Linked DNA regions of Homo sapiens: region 1 is linked to region 2. Evidence: promoter capture Hi-C in 16 types of primary human blood cells and fetal thymus (Javierre and others, 2016). All regions are on one chromosome and are shown on one strand. The core of a region is centred on a gene start or on the middle of the fragment in contact, and the rest is flanking DNA. Distances in the headings are between cores, read along the strand shown.

The links. Contacts are between HindIII fragments. The CHiCAGO score rates a contact against its expected background, and 5 or more counts as called.
Region 1: a contact is called between a fragment that was not itself captured here and the fragment with the promoter of DPYD in region 2, in 1 of 17 cell types (erythroblasts). The highest score is 6.4, in erythroblasts.

The regions. Positions count from the first base shown.
Region 1 is chr1:96,964,801-96,971,297 of GRCh38, reverse strand. No RefSeq gene overlaps it. Among named protein-coding and RNA genes, the nearest start is that of DPYD-AS1, 130 kb to the left of the region's middle. The HindIII fragment of the contact is 1,490 bases long and covers 648-2,137 here.
Region 2 is chr1:97,918,559-97,925,361 of GRCh38, reverse strand. It overlaps DPYD (dihydropyrimidine dehydrogenase), which reads left to right and starts at 4,328. Exons shown (of 23, transcript NM_000110.4): 1 at 4,328-4,478. The coding sequence starts at 4,440. RefSeq lists a silencer at 4,123-4,522. The HindIII fragment of the contact is 4,374 bases long and covers 1,429-5,802 here.

The DNA.
Region 1 (6,497 bases), core at 143-2,642, 950 kb after region 2:
TTTGAGGAGGGTGTACAAAGAGAGCCCTGTATCTAGAAATCACTGTTAGAGACCAAAATCTCAGCAATACAGACATTCTTTCACATGAAGGCATTGTCTGGTTAAAATGCTAACACCCATGGTAGAGTTGGTGGAATTTAAAATGAAACAGTTAAATTTTGATTGTGGAAAGTAAAGAAAAAGGCCTGGAGGTCCACCCATCACTCAAGAAATGTTTGGCAGAGGGTTCTAAACATCCGGCGAAGGTTTACAGGCAGGAGGGCAGTTTCATGGGCACAGGAGAAAAGTGCAGAGAGAGGAGAATGGGAGAGGGGGAGTGAGAATTTGATTCATCTTGATAACAGTATTGAGTGTTGTCTATCTATGAAGCAATTGTCCAGTGCTTTGCATTTATTAACTCACTAAACCTTCAAATAGCTCTATGGGGTAGATACTATCATTGTCCTTACTCTACAAATGAAGCATCAAAGACCACAGTCATGTCTGTGGTTAAGAGGAACTGTGGTTGGCGATCCTCTAGGTTCTATCTCTAGCCTTCCCCTCTGTATGGAATTTCTTGCCTTCATGGCTCATCTACTCTTCTGGTGTTAATAGCCACCTCTGTGTTGTTGACTTCCAAATCGGCACCTCTCTTTCTAATCCAAGCTTCAGAGGCTGTGCAGAAACAGTAACAAAACAGAAAATTCTTGCTGTCAAGTCCAATGACCCCCTACTCCTGGTAAGATTTATAGGCAAGTAAAATCAGGTTTATTAATTAAGTCACAAAGAGGGCTGTGTTGCCTGAGGGGGGCTCTGTGTTGGGCATAATGAGTACATATACTGGTTGATTCTTTGTTTGAAAATATCCCTCAAACTTTATGTCTTAGTTAAATCTACCTAAATAGAAATCCTCCTTTGCCCCTCAAGACTGACTCTCTGAATCGCTCTCCCACTGCATAGAGTTCATAGCCCTAAGCAATTGCCCTAATTTTCCAGGCCCTAGGTTTGCCTCAATTCCATTCTCACCAGGTGGTGCAGCAGGCAGGTATCTGAGAAACCCCATGTTCATAAAATTTGAGTAGAGCTTCTTGTGACCGGTTCATCTGCCAAGGGCCAGCCCACATCTTATGTCTATTTGTGCACTGGACTTCCCATAGAGCTTATTTATCTGATGCATATAATGCACCTTAAAATTGTTAGTTAGCAAATTGTTCACATGTACTTGACATGTTTCTCCAAATACACTGTAAGTACATGGACAAAAAGCACTACATCTTGTATACTTTGAAGCAGCTAGAATGGAGTAGTACTGTGGAGGTGCTCAAAAAGGGTAGATGAATTGGCTGATTACAGAGGGGGTCCAGGATCCTGAAACAATAGAATGAGTCCACTGATTCTGATTTTCTCCATCTGTGTGGATGTTAGCAGAGAGTTAAACAGATCAGAAAAAGCTGTCTGGGTTCTGGACATTGTCCTGAACCAGAACAGTGGAGTCTGGTTCAAATGCAATTAAACTTAACACAGGAAAATGCCAGAGAGAGAACAAAGCCAAACAGCCCAAGGTAGCTCCATTTTAATTTCATTTTTAAGCCTAAAATCAAATCAGTGGATGCTGAGTGCCTATTGTGTACAAAGAAGCCTGTGCAAATCGGCAGATACCTGAGAGAGCTGCCTTCTCTTAACCCAAACACCTTTCACGGCAGAGCACCGTACTTGGAGACAGAACAAGGGGCACCATATTCCATACATGCCTCAAAATCCAGGAACAAATTATTTAAAGTCTCTGAGCCTCATGGAATTTTTGATTTGTTTGTTCATTTGTTTTATGATGTGCTTGCATCTGAGTGGCAGGAAAGACTAGAGCCATCTTGCTTCTATGTGGAGCCAGAGAATTAAACCAACCCTGGAACTCAGAGGTGGTGCAGTTCAATTTGACACACAAGACTTCTTTGGTCTTTGCTATCTTCAAGAGCCTGTGCTAGAACCTGTGTTATGTGACAACGTGACTGCGACCCCCGAAGAGCAGCAGCCAACTTATGACTATGAACACCCAAGCTGAGGATGAATCAGTGCCCTATGAGGACAGCAGAGCAGAAATATGACAGCTAGTGCTTAGTACTGAGGACATCATTGTGCCCTGGACTGCCTATGTTAAGCTTCTTGTTGCGTAAGATAAATATTTTCCTCTGTGTTTAAGGCATTTTGATTTGCCCAACCCCTGCCTTAACACTGTCTGCAAAAGAGTGGAAAAAAAAATTCTCCTATCTAGAGTATTTCTTCTCTCCTGCTTTACTTAAATTTTTTTTACAAATATGTACATAGAACTTAAAAATATGTACACAGAATACTAAAAATGTGAGGTAATAATAATAACATGTTTCTCAGAGGGATGGTGTGAGGATCAGTAAGATAAATATGCAAAAAATACTGTAGACGCATTAATAATTTCCTTTATTATCTTCATCGTCACACCACCAGACTCCCTGCCTTTGCTCTCTTCCCAACAACACTGCCTGCCGTCAGTGGCGCGGAGTCAGGCAGGCAGTGCTACGGAGTCCCTTCAGAGCTAAGACAGCAGGGATGGAGAGAGCTAAGTGCTGTCAGTTATGTTGGCTAGTGAGGAAGAAGGGGGTTAGCTGCTTCACTCACAATTTTGGAACCGTGTAGCTATTCACCCTGTTTATGTAACAGATGCTAAATAGAAAAGAGATGTCAGCTTGGAAAGCAGAAACCCATACTAACCAACTCTGAAGTGAGAACTCTAATGAAAGCCAAAAATAACAAAGTTCTCTTCTCTGTGACAAGAAAGGGGTATTAAAAATTCAGGCAACCTGAAACAATCCATTCAAAATGGCATAAATCTTCCTGTAACATTTTACCATATTCCTGAATGCAACTTTTTCTACACTCACTCAGGCATGATTGTGATGGAAAGCAAGATGGATGCTATTTATAAACCAATGATTGAAAAAAAAAATTCAAAACTCTGACCGATAGACCAATGTATCCTATATTTTTAGTGGAAGCCATAGAAGGTATAGTTCTGTAGTAAAATACGTCATTTCAGTGATACACAGTTTACATTCATGTTTTTATTTTTTTAAATCATTATACATCTCCATAGGGTTTAGGTCCCCACTCCCCCCCAAGAAAAAGAGACAGAAAAATCACAAACATCCAAAGTTAAAAATTTGTATATAAATTGTATAAATTTAAATTTATAAATATAAATGTATATAAATTATATAAATATAATTTAAATGCCCTGTAAGTTTTCCTTTCAATAAAAACATTCTTACAATTTATATTTATGTAACCATCATTCAATAAGGCTAATATATAAAGATATTGCAAGGAACTCTTTCTTGTCAATGATCTGGAGATATTGCTATTGGCTTTTATTGGTAAGTTTACTCAGCAACAGTTAAGATATATACAGTCCATTGCATCTTTGTTTTGCACATTCTTGTTCAGGGTAATAAAAAGGGCCAAATTCCTTTAGTTAAACTTTTACAATGATATTGTGGCAATATATTTGAAATATTTGTCACTCTCCAAGGAATTATACTGATCAACATACAGCAGACTTTCAAATAAATCTAATTATTTGAATATGTTTATGATGGTTACTTAAATAATATTTAAATATGTAAAGATATGGCTACTTAAAAACGTTGCAGTGTTCCTGTAAAATCAAGGTTTGTTTGACTTTGATCAGGTCTCCTCCGTAAGAAGTTCGTACGGCAGTAGCAGAGCCAAGGGTCTTAAACATTCTGAAGCACCTCTTCCGTTCACCCGAAGATCTCAGGCATTCCGGATGCTGTCTCTCTGCTTTGGAATCCTGCTGAAATGAGCAGAAGTGTGCATGTGAGGAAAGTCAGGAAAGTTCATTTTATTCAGAAGTATGGAAAGGGCTGTGTGGATTTGTTTTAAAAGACCCGTCCTGGACATTGAGAGAGTGCTTTGAATTGGATATTGATATTTTCATTGAAGCTAGAGGAATCTGAAATGTTCACTGGAGTAAAGAGATTATGTTGTGATAACAACAAAAATAAGAAGCAGTGTTTCTCAGCCGGGCACGGTGGCTCACACCTATAATCCCAGCAATTTGGGAGGCTGAGGCGGGCGGATCACCTGAGGTCAGGAGTTCGAGACCAGCCTGACCAACATGGTGAAACCCCGTCTCTACTAAAAGTACAACTATTAGCCAGGCGTAGTGGCGGGCGCCTGTAATCCCAGCTACTCGGGAGTCTGAGGCAGGAGAATCGCTTGAACCCGGGAGGCGGAGGTTGCAGTGAGCCGAGATCGCGCCATTGCACTCCAGAAAGCAAGACTCTGTATCAAAAAAAAAAAAAAAAAGGTGTTTCTTACTACTGTGGCTTATGATGTAATGAAAACATGGTTATTCGCCACCATGGCACACGTTTACCTGTGTAACAAACCTGCACGTCCTGTACATGAATCCTGGAACTTTAAATTAAATTAAGTTAAATTTTTAAAAAAGAAAATATGGTTATTTATCATACGGGAAAGACCATGATGTGTTGACTGGTGTGCACTAGTTGCTAGTGCCCTCTGCTGGACAGAATGAGCATTTCACCAGGAGGGCTGTGGCTGGGCTGTCTCCCTTGTTACCAGCAGTAAGGATGGATACATATTTTTCCAATTCAGATGCTTTTGTTGTAAGACACACAACACACAGCATCTCCCCAAGGACAAAAAAATCCAAACTAAAGACAAGATACAGAGACTCATTCTTACTATGTGATTCTATTAGGAATAATGGTTTTCAATTTGCATAAACTCTGATAGCATTTTCTTTTTACTTACCCTTCCTGCCTTCTTTTAAACAAACTATATAAAACTCCTTACACTGAAATGTATTCCATAGGAACTCTTCCTATTCTTTTTCTTTCACTCTCTATCTCGGACATATTATCTAAAACATTTCTTTTTAAAAGAATATATCTTATACATATTCTATCTATATATATATTTTTAATATATGTTCCAGTTGTAAAATGCATCAATATAGTGTCATTTCAAATCTAGGCAGTAACCATGACATTGCCTTGCTCACCTCAAAAGGCTCCAGTTTATCATAAATGATCAGTAGCCGAGAGTGTGAAATCAAAGCTAGAGAAACATGAAAGACCTCCTTCTGGTGTCAAGTCCTTTGAGGCCAGTTCGGACCAGCAGTCCAGCAGTAGGAAACACAGCAGTGGAGGTGTGCAGAGGCTTGTGTGAACAGTTCACCGTTGTTCACACCCCTTGAGTTTGGTTGTTGAATGGAAGGTTGAAACATATTTCCTCAACTCAAAGCAAAACTAACCTGAAAACATAAATTGGCCCATTTGGGCTTCAAACTTGACTCAAATGTACAAAAAGGGGTTCACAAACTTCAGGGAACCTGATTCAACCTTTTAGTTTGTTAAGAAACCCAGAAGAGAGGGCCTTTATAGTTATCAAAGGTCTGCACGTTACCTCGCCAATGGAAGTGTGCTGTTAATAAAAGCTGCTCCCCCACGTGTCGGGGGCACCAACCCACTGTGCCTCAGAAGTTCCCAAATGTCTGGCATGGTACCAACCTTTTTTTTTAGGCTAAATTTATACTCTATCCAGTTAAACTGTGATGAGCGGAGTGTCAGTTACTTCAGTTAAACAAATAGCTAATTCTGAAAATAATATTAAAATTAACTTTGATAAGGTTATAGACATAAAAACTGAACATATTAAGGTTTTATATCATTGTCCACTTTATAATAATAATTTCAAAAACTTACAGCAAGGACCCTAATGTATTTCATGTTTGCTTTGTACTTTTCTTCGATATATTTGAAAATGTTTGAAAAACGGCTTATACTCCTGTAACATCTGCTAAATGGTCTCATAAGTGTCAGCACCTTCAATGTCACTTGCTTTCTATAAATAGCTAACATGCCTGAAGCTTCTCAAACATCACTTACTTTGTACCTGGAGGTTTGTTTTCCCTCTGTGTTGGAACAGATTTTTTTTTTAATGTATAGGCAACCCTAACACCATTGTTCTATTTTTCATACTTGGAGCTCTTCTTGCCTTTTGTCATATCTGATATTGTTTTAATATGTGGAAATCAGACAAAAATGTCAAAAGAAGAAGAAAACACCAGCAGAGATGTACTATAAATTGAAATATTTTATATCTACAGTAAAAAAAAAACCTTTAATTTTAAAAATGCCAGAAATGATTCCATCAGTATGAAAATAAAGATGTCATGACTAAATAGGAATTTTCAGTCTCTTAGCTGTCAATAATTAATAGATTATTTACACTGGCACACTTACATTTCCCAGCTTTCTGGATTCCATTTACACTTTGATCCTTTGCTCAGCAGCAAATTTAGCATCATTGTGACCTTCCTCTGCCCAACACCATCCGCCCATCAGACAGGGAGAGAGCATCATCTGATATGTGCATTTATTAAGGCAGCAAGCTCCAAATATTGGAAAAATGACAAATGCCAGTGTTTCCTATAATAA
Region 2 (6,803 bases), core at 3,079-5,578:
CAGCTGTCAACCACTAACATTCCCAGGAGCTGAGAGAATGAGTGCCTCAGTTTTGAATGGGTTGGGGGATGGGTGGTGATCTGTGAAGCACATCATAACATCTGCTACAGATAACCAAAAGGGAAAATACATACTTTAAGGCAAGGATATGAAGAACTTGCTCAAATGTAAATGAACTAGAAATTATAAAACAATAAAATTCCAGCAATAAAACAAGAAACCACTTTAAATGCCAGTTCTTGGAATTGTGACAATATTAGATGGTGAGAGGAAACCAACAAGGCCAAGGAAAAGACCCCTAAGTAGTAAGGCAAATTATTTCAGGGGACATTCATTCTAAAGGATGTTTTCCCCCACTTTAAGTTAGATAAGTCTATAAACTTTCCCCTTACACTGCATTTTACCCAAAATCTTTCATAGGCAATCATGCATTAATGACATTTTTCTAGAACGTGGGAACGTGGGCATTGAAAGATTATATCTTTAAATTTGTAATATTTAATTTATATGACACTGTTCAATTTACAAAATACTATTGCATATATTTTGACATCTGACTCTCATAGTAATCCATTCAGTTAAACCACTCATTTAAAATCACTAAGCGGCAATTTTTGTTTTTCATTTAGTGGCTAAAGGTTTGTGGTAACAGAGACAATGTCTCTATTGTCCACTGAGATGTCACTAATGCTTATGACAGTGTCTGAAACAATTGTACTCAATAAATAATTGCTAAATAAATTTATGGGAGAGGTTTGTAGTTTCTCTGTGTTATCTGTGCTTTTTATGGCATTTACATAATACATGCTGATATACTGCATATCTATATATGCAATATGATAGACATGTAGTTGAGCACATTATACTGTTTGTTCCATGAAATATGAACCAACGTATTCCTTTTGGTCTTTTTAACAGGAATGCTGGAAATATTTGGGCCTAACTGATCTTTAGTCATTATCCTACTGGTCAATATGGGTAGGAATTAATTTGGCCCTTGAAAATCAGACAGCGGAAAAAATGCACCTCATGATCATTCAGCCTCTGACTTTTTGGGAGGAAATCATTTTCAAAGAAATGTCCCCCACCAAAAAAAATCTCTTAATGCTACACTGCAAAGGGAAAATAAAGGCATATGGAAATCTGAATTTTTGTTGTGTTTCTAAATTTGTAATATTGAATAACTTTTTAGATGTGAAATTAAAGATGACTCATAAGTCCTACTTCTGACTTTGGTAGTAATAATATTCATTTATGTACTGTAAACTATTAGGTTCAAACATAAGCTGTTTCTCCAAAGCCTACAAAAAATTAATGTGGAACACCTGATATTTCACTGTGCTTCCAGATGGAGGGACAGCTTGACAAACGCCATCATAATTTACAACTTTTAAAAAGTGTGGTGCAAATGCATTTGCAGTAAAAGCTTTAAACAGCTTGCATTATTTACAGGTACAACTGTGCTTAATGTGCAATTTCAATGAATTTAAAATATTATTAGATTAAATCACTGATCACAGAGCATAGGTGTGGCACGTGAGCAATGTGATTAGATGCCTTAATTAATATGTCAGAACAGGATACATCTGTTTGATGAAGTTGGGGGGGATGGTAAATAGCATTTAAATTTTATATTTGATTATTGACTATCACCGATGAAACTCTTATCTTTGGAAAACCACCGTATATTGGACTTATCCTCTATAGTTGTTTAGGAGAATTATAACAGAAAACGAATATGAAAATACACTGTATAACTCTTAAAGATAACTTGGATTCTTGTACACATAAATTAACTATCAATTGCTAACTGATAAGATGTATGTTAAAGTGTAACCTGAAAGAGCAATAAGCCTGTATCCCTGTAAGTTAGGAAATTGAACATTGAACCTGACTGATTAAATTGGGGAAGAAATCATATGTATTATAATTATATATATTATATTTGTAAATTTATATATGTTTATATGTGTATATCTTTTCTCAATATATACATATGTGTGTATATGTATGTATGTATTTGGGTGTTTATATGTGTATTTATATATATAGACTGATAGAAAAATAGATATAGATAGATTTATCTATCTCTCTATATCTCCAAGAGGATCTAGAGTAAGTGGGTAAGGTGTGGTTGTAGGGAGATGCAGGAACATCTGACTTTGGAACATTACTCCATGAAAAGATAAGTAGTTATTTTGACCCATTTTAACTACAAATTCATTGATAGATATTGTGACCTATTTCTCAGCAGTAAGTAGGACAATGAGAATATGTGATGCAGAGAAACTAAAGTTTCTAAAATGAACTGCCCAGTGTATAAACGAATGTACTCTGTTCATTCAATCACCAAGTGTTCTTGGTCTCTTATGCTTCAGTCCTGAGCTAGGAACTGAGTATCCAGTAAACAATAAAAGTACACATGGGCCCCCTCTTCCTGGAGCTTCCTCTCTAAATAGAAGACATATATTAAATGAATCACATTCAAATAAATATTTAAACAACATTTGAAAAGTCTATGAAGACGAAATATAATGAAAAAGACAGAGTGGGTGTAATTTTGTTGGTGATGGGGTTAGATCATAAAGGCTTCAGTGAGACCTAAATGATGAGTAGAAGGGGAAGAAGAGCTCCAAGTGGAGGGCAATGTGCAAAGGTAGAGAAGTGGATGGAGGATGAGAAGATTACCTTGTGGTTGGAACATAATGAGTCAGGGCAAGAGTGGCGGAGAAGCGGAGTAGAGCAGGTTATTCAGCGGTTACTAGGGAGTTTGTATTATATTCTGACTGCAATGGACCATTGAAGGATTTATACCATGGGTACCTGGGTGTGTGGATGTATCGTTGTATGGCATGAGCCAGTTAATACTTTCTAAAGCTCAATCTGGTATGGATATGAGGTAAGAATAGAAGCTAGAATACCAGTAGCTTGGACCATGGTGGATGCAGCAAAATGGAGAAATGAATGATTCAAAATCTATTTAGGAGGTTGACTTCTGAGAGTTTGGGCATAGATTAAATGAGGCAATAAGGATAAAGGAGTCAAAGATGATTCTAAGGTTTCCATTTAACTTTCTAGTGTCTGTTAATATTTGATTCAAGAAAAATGTATCTGTCTTTTAGTAATTTCCAGGTTCTGGAAGGTAATCTGATGGTTTGTTCAGAGAAGCCTTCTCAACCACGCAAGGTACCCATACCCTAGTTATTCTGTCCTATTTTTCTTTTATCTTACAAGCAGGCATCACATTTTCTTACTTGCTTATTTTGAGTATAATCTCCATGACAGTGATGTGTATTCTTGAAGACTATATCCGGAGAACCTAGCACAGTGTCTGTGTCTGGCATATTGAAAATGCTCAATAAACATATTCGTTGAATAAAACGATGAATGGACTAATGAAAAAATAATAAGGGAGAAATACTTGACTCCAAGGTGTCACTACCTAGCCAAGTGCATGAAGGAGTGCCGCAAATGTCCTAACGGAAGTAGAAAGTGTTATGGTAGAAGAGAGGTGGGATGCATCTAACAGGGGTGGGGGGGGGGCGGGGAGAAAAGGAGAGAGGTCTGGAGTACACATATCCTCAAAAAACGAGGTGAATGTTTTCTGGATTGGGACCAACTCTACAGGAAATCTCTCCCTTCTCCTCAGCAAGCTCTAGAGCAAAAACGAAGAGCAACTTTTCAAAAGAGTTTCACGTTTTAGAATAAAAAATATTTAAAAAAATAACCATTAAAATGAGACTTTCCTGCAAAAAGACAACCTTGATTATGTACCACCTGCAGCACTTCCTGTATGCTGCTGCGGGCTGTGGATGTTTTTGCTCGCCTCCCTCCCCTCCCCGCTGGGGCTGTGAACTCTCAGAAGACCGGTGCTTTGGTATCCTCCACTGCAGCTCAAACCCCGCCCACCTACTTGGTGGATGGATGGAGGAACATCTACTATTTCATCCTTGAGGAGTTCCTGAAAATGCAGTTGCCCCTCAAACAATGTATCTACATCTCGCGGGGTTTCTGTGGAAGAAAAGAAAAAGTGCAAGTTGTTGCTTGGAGCGCGGACTGCTTTTACCTTTGCCTGGGGATCCCTCCTATCTGGCCCCGCCTGCCTAGCTCTGTTTTTAGCAGTTTAGAGATTAAAGGCCAGTCCCCAGAGCGGGTGCTCTACTCCCTCCCTCCCTTCTGCTTGCAGGCTGGGGCGCGGAGCGGGCTGAACTGGGAAGGCCGGGCTGCGGCTGCCGTGCCTGGCGCGGGAGCCGCAGGACCGAGAGCGCAGCCCCGCCCCGGGGGCGTTGCCGCCCCGCGCCCGCTCCGCCCCCGCGCCGCCGGCCCTAGTCTGCCTGTTTTCGACTCGCGCTCCGGCTGCTGTCACTTGGCTCTCTGGCTGGAGCTTGAGGACGCAAGGAGGGTTTGTCACTGGCAGACTCGAGACTGTAGGCACTGCCATGGCCCCTGTGCTCAGTAAGGACTCGGCGGACATCGAGGTACGGACTTCGCGCCGGCTCGTCGGTGGTGGCGGGGTGGTGGGGAGTGCTCTGCGGGTAGGTGCCGGGGAGGCCCCCGCGGCCCCCGCACCCCGGAGAGTGAGAGACGCGGGAAAGTTTCCCCCGTGGGAGCTCTGCGGGGGAGCGGAGGAGCGCGGAGCCACAGGCCCGCGTGGGCAGGCGGGGAGCTCAGGGGAGGACTTTCCGCTACTGGAGGGGTTGCCCTTTGCGTCGGGACCTGTTTACTTCGGAAGAGATTTCAGGAAGCCTGTCTTGTCCTCCTCTGAATGTCAGTGACTGAAGAAGCACTGGAGTTCCAGAGAGGTGGACTCTAGGGGGTAGGAGTGCCCATTTCCCACACGTTCTACCCCTTCACCTCCTGTATGTCGTTTCTGGACACCTCCACTGCCCCCATTTCCAATAGCTGAATCCTGCTATTTGCAAAGGTGAAGCATAGAAATAAAACATCTGTGTGTCAGCTGTAGCAGTCGCCTCTAGTCATAGTATTGTTTATGAAATAATTTAACATGGAGAGAATGGAACGAAGTATTCAGAACATGAAAAATGCAGTGCCCTCAGAAAAACTAACTGTATTTTTCTCTCCTCTCAACGGTTTTTGATTCCCTCTTGCACTCCGTTTCTGTTAAAAAAAATCTTTTTTTATGTAAATAAGGTCCTACCTGAAACGACATGGCATTTCCTTTCTCTCTAGTATCTTAATATATGCGATGAAAAGGATTTAATTATCAACAGTGATTTTACACATACTAAACCTAGGTCAGCACTTTTGAGCTAAGACAAACTGATTTTTAGTTTTCTGTTTTGTTTGGGGCTTTTCTTTATTTGAGTCTTCTACTCTGGTAGAAAATTATGTGTGTGTGTGTTTTCTTTAGAAATAACAAAATTTTCCTTTCGTCAGTCCTTTTGGCGGCTTAAGTAAAAGTTTTGCAAACCACCTGTTTGCAAAATAGCTGCTTTTGCCACATTTTGCCTCCGTAATTGAAGAAACTTTATATTCTGGGAGGAAGTAGTCCTGTTTTCTCCAGGCTCCATAACTTGGTTTGAAAAATCATTTTAGTAACAAGAGCCAAAGTGTATTATGTGGACATCTCTGGTTAGTTTACTTTTGGTTTCTGTTTTGGAGAGTTGACTTTTTGATATTGAGCAATATGATATATTTAACAAATAGTTGTTCATCTGTGTGCAGGATAATAGATACTTGTCTTTTTCTATATTTCATTTAGGGTAGTCTATTCCTTTTTGGTCCTTGTGACTTTGACTTAACTTTTTAAAAAATTTTATTTACTAAGTCGAAAAACAAGCTTCTGACAGTATTAAGGCAGTATTGATTTAAGATATCGGAGTTGACTTAGGATGGGTGGCTTTTGGCTCTTTAATTTCAGAATGGTGTGTTATCTGCTTAACTGATTTCTTTCTCTGCAGTTGTCTTCGAAATCAGTTCTTACATTCTACTGAGGAGAAAGATGCCAGTGAAACATTGAATGCCAAGCTTGATTTCATATATTGTTTCAACTAAGAACATTTAAGAAGCCCATCCTTCCCACTCCCTCCACTCAATTCAACCTTAGTCTATATGGCCAGTTTGCCTAATATTACTTTTAATCTAGATTGCTGGTGTTCAAACACCTTCAGCTCTTATGTAGTTCATATGTGCAACACTTTAATCAGTAACATCTTTCATCACTCACAGCACCTTACTTTTCCCTCAAAGTAATACCCGTGATTCATGAGCTAGAATACCATGAAAGAGCATGAAATTAATCATTAAAATATAATGCAGTGAGGAAAAATACATTAAGCTTAGGGGAGCACATTCAAGCATAAATGCCTCAGTTGATCCTATTGATTTACCAAAGTTCATTTTTGTGTTGAAGAATTAGAATGAATTATAAAGGCTCAGTTTTCCATCAAATTTGAATGCTTTTCTTGAACAAATTCATTACAACCATTGTCTAGAGATCTGATTGTGATCATTGTTTTAGCTTCAAATACATGGATAAGCAAGTAATATTTTAAAAATATTGGTATGAAGCAGTTAATGAATGTGATAAGAACACATTGATAAATGTGAAAAGTACTTGACAATTGTTAAAAGAACAGAAGGTGATGATAACAACCTACTCTAATAGTGACTGACTTTTCCCTATGAGCTAACTACAGAACCTCAGGTTTCAGTGAAACAGCCAAGAAATATCTTTGTTTCTGGGGGAAAAGTTATTGAGGTATATATAAAGGTGCTTTGTGTGCCTGCTTCATAATTTCTAGTCTGAATCCAATATCACATCAGGATTTGACGGTTAGGAA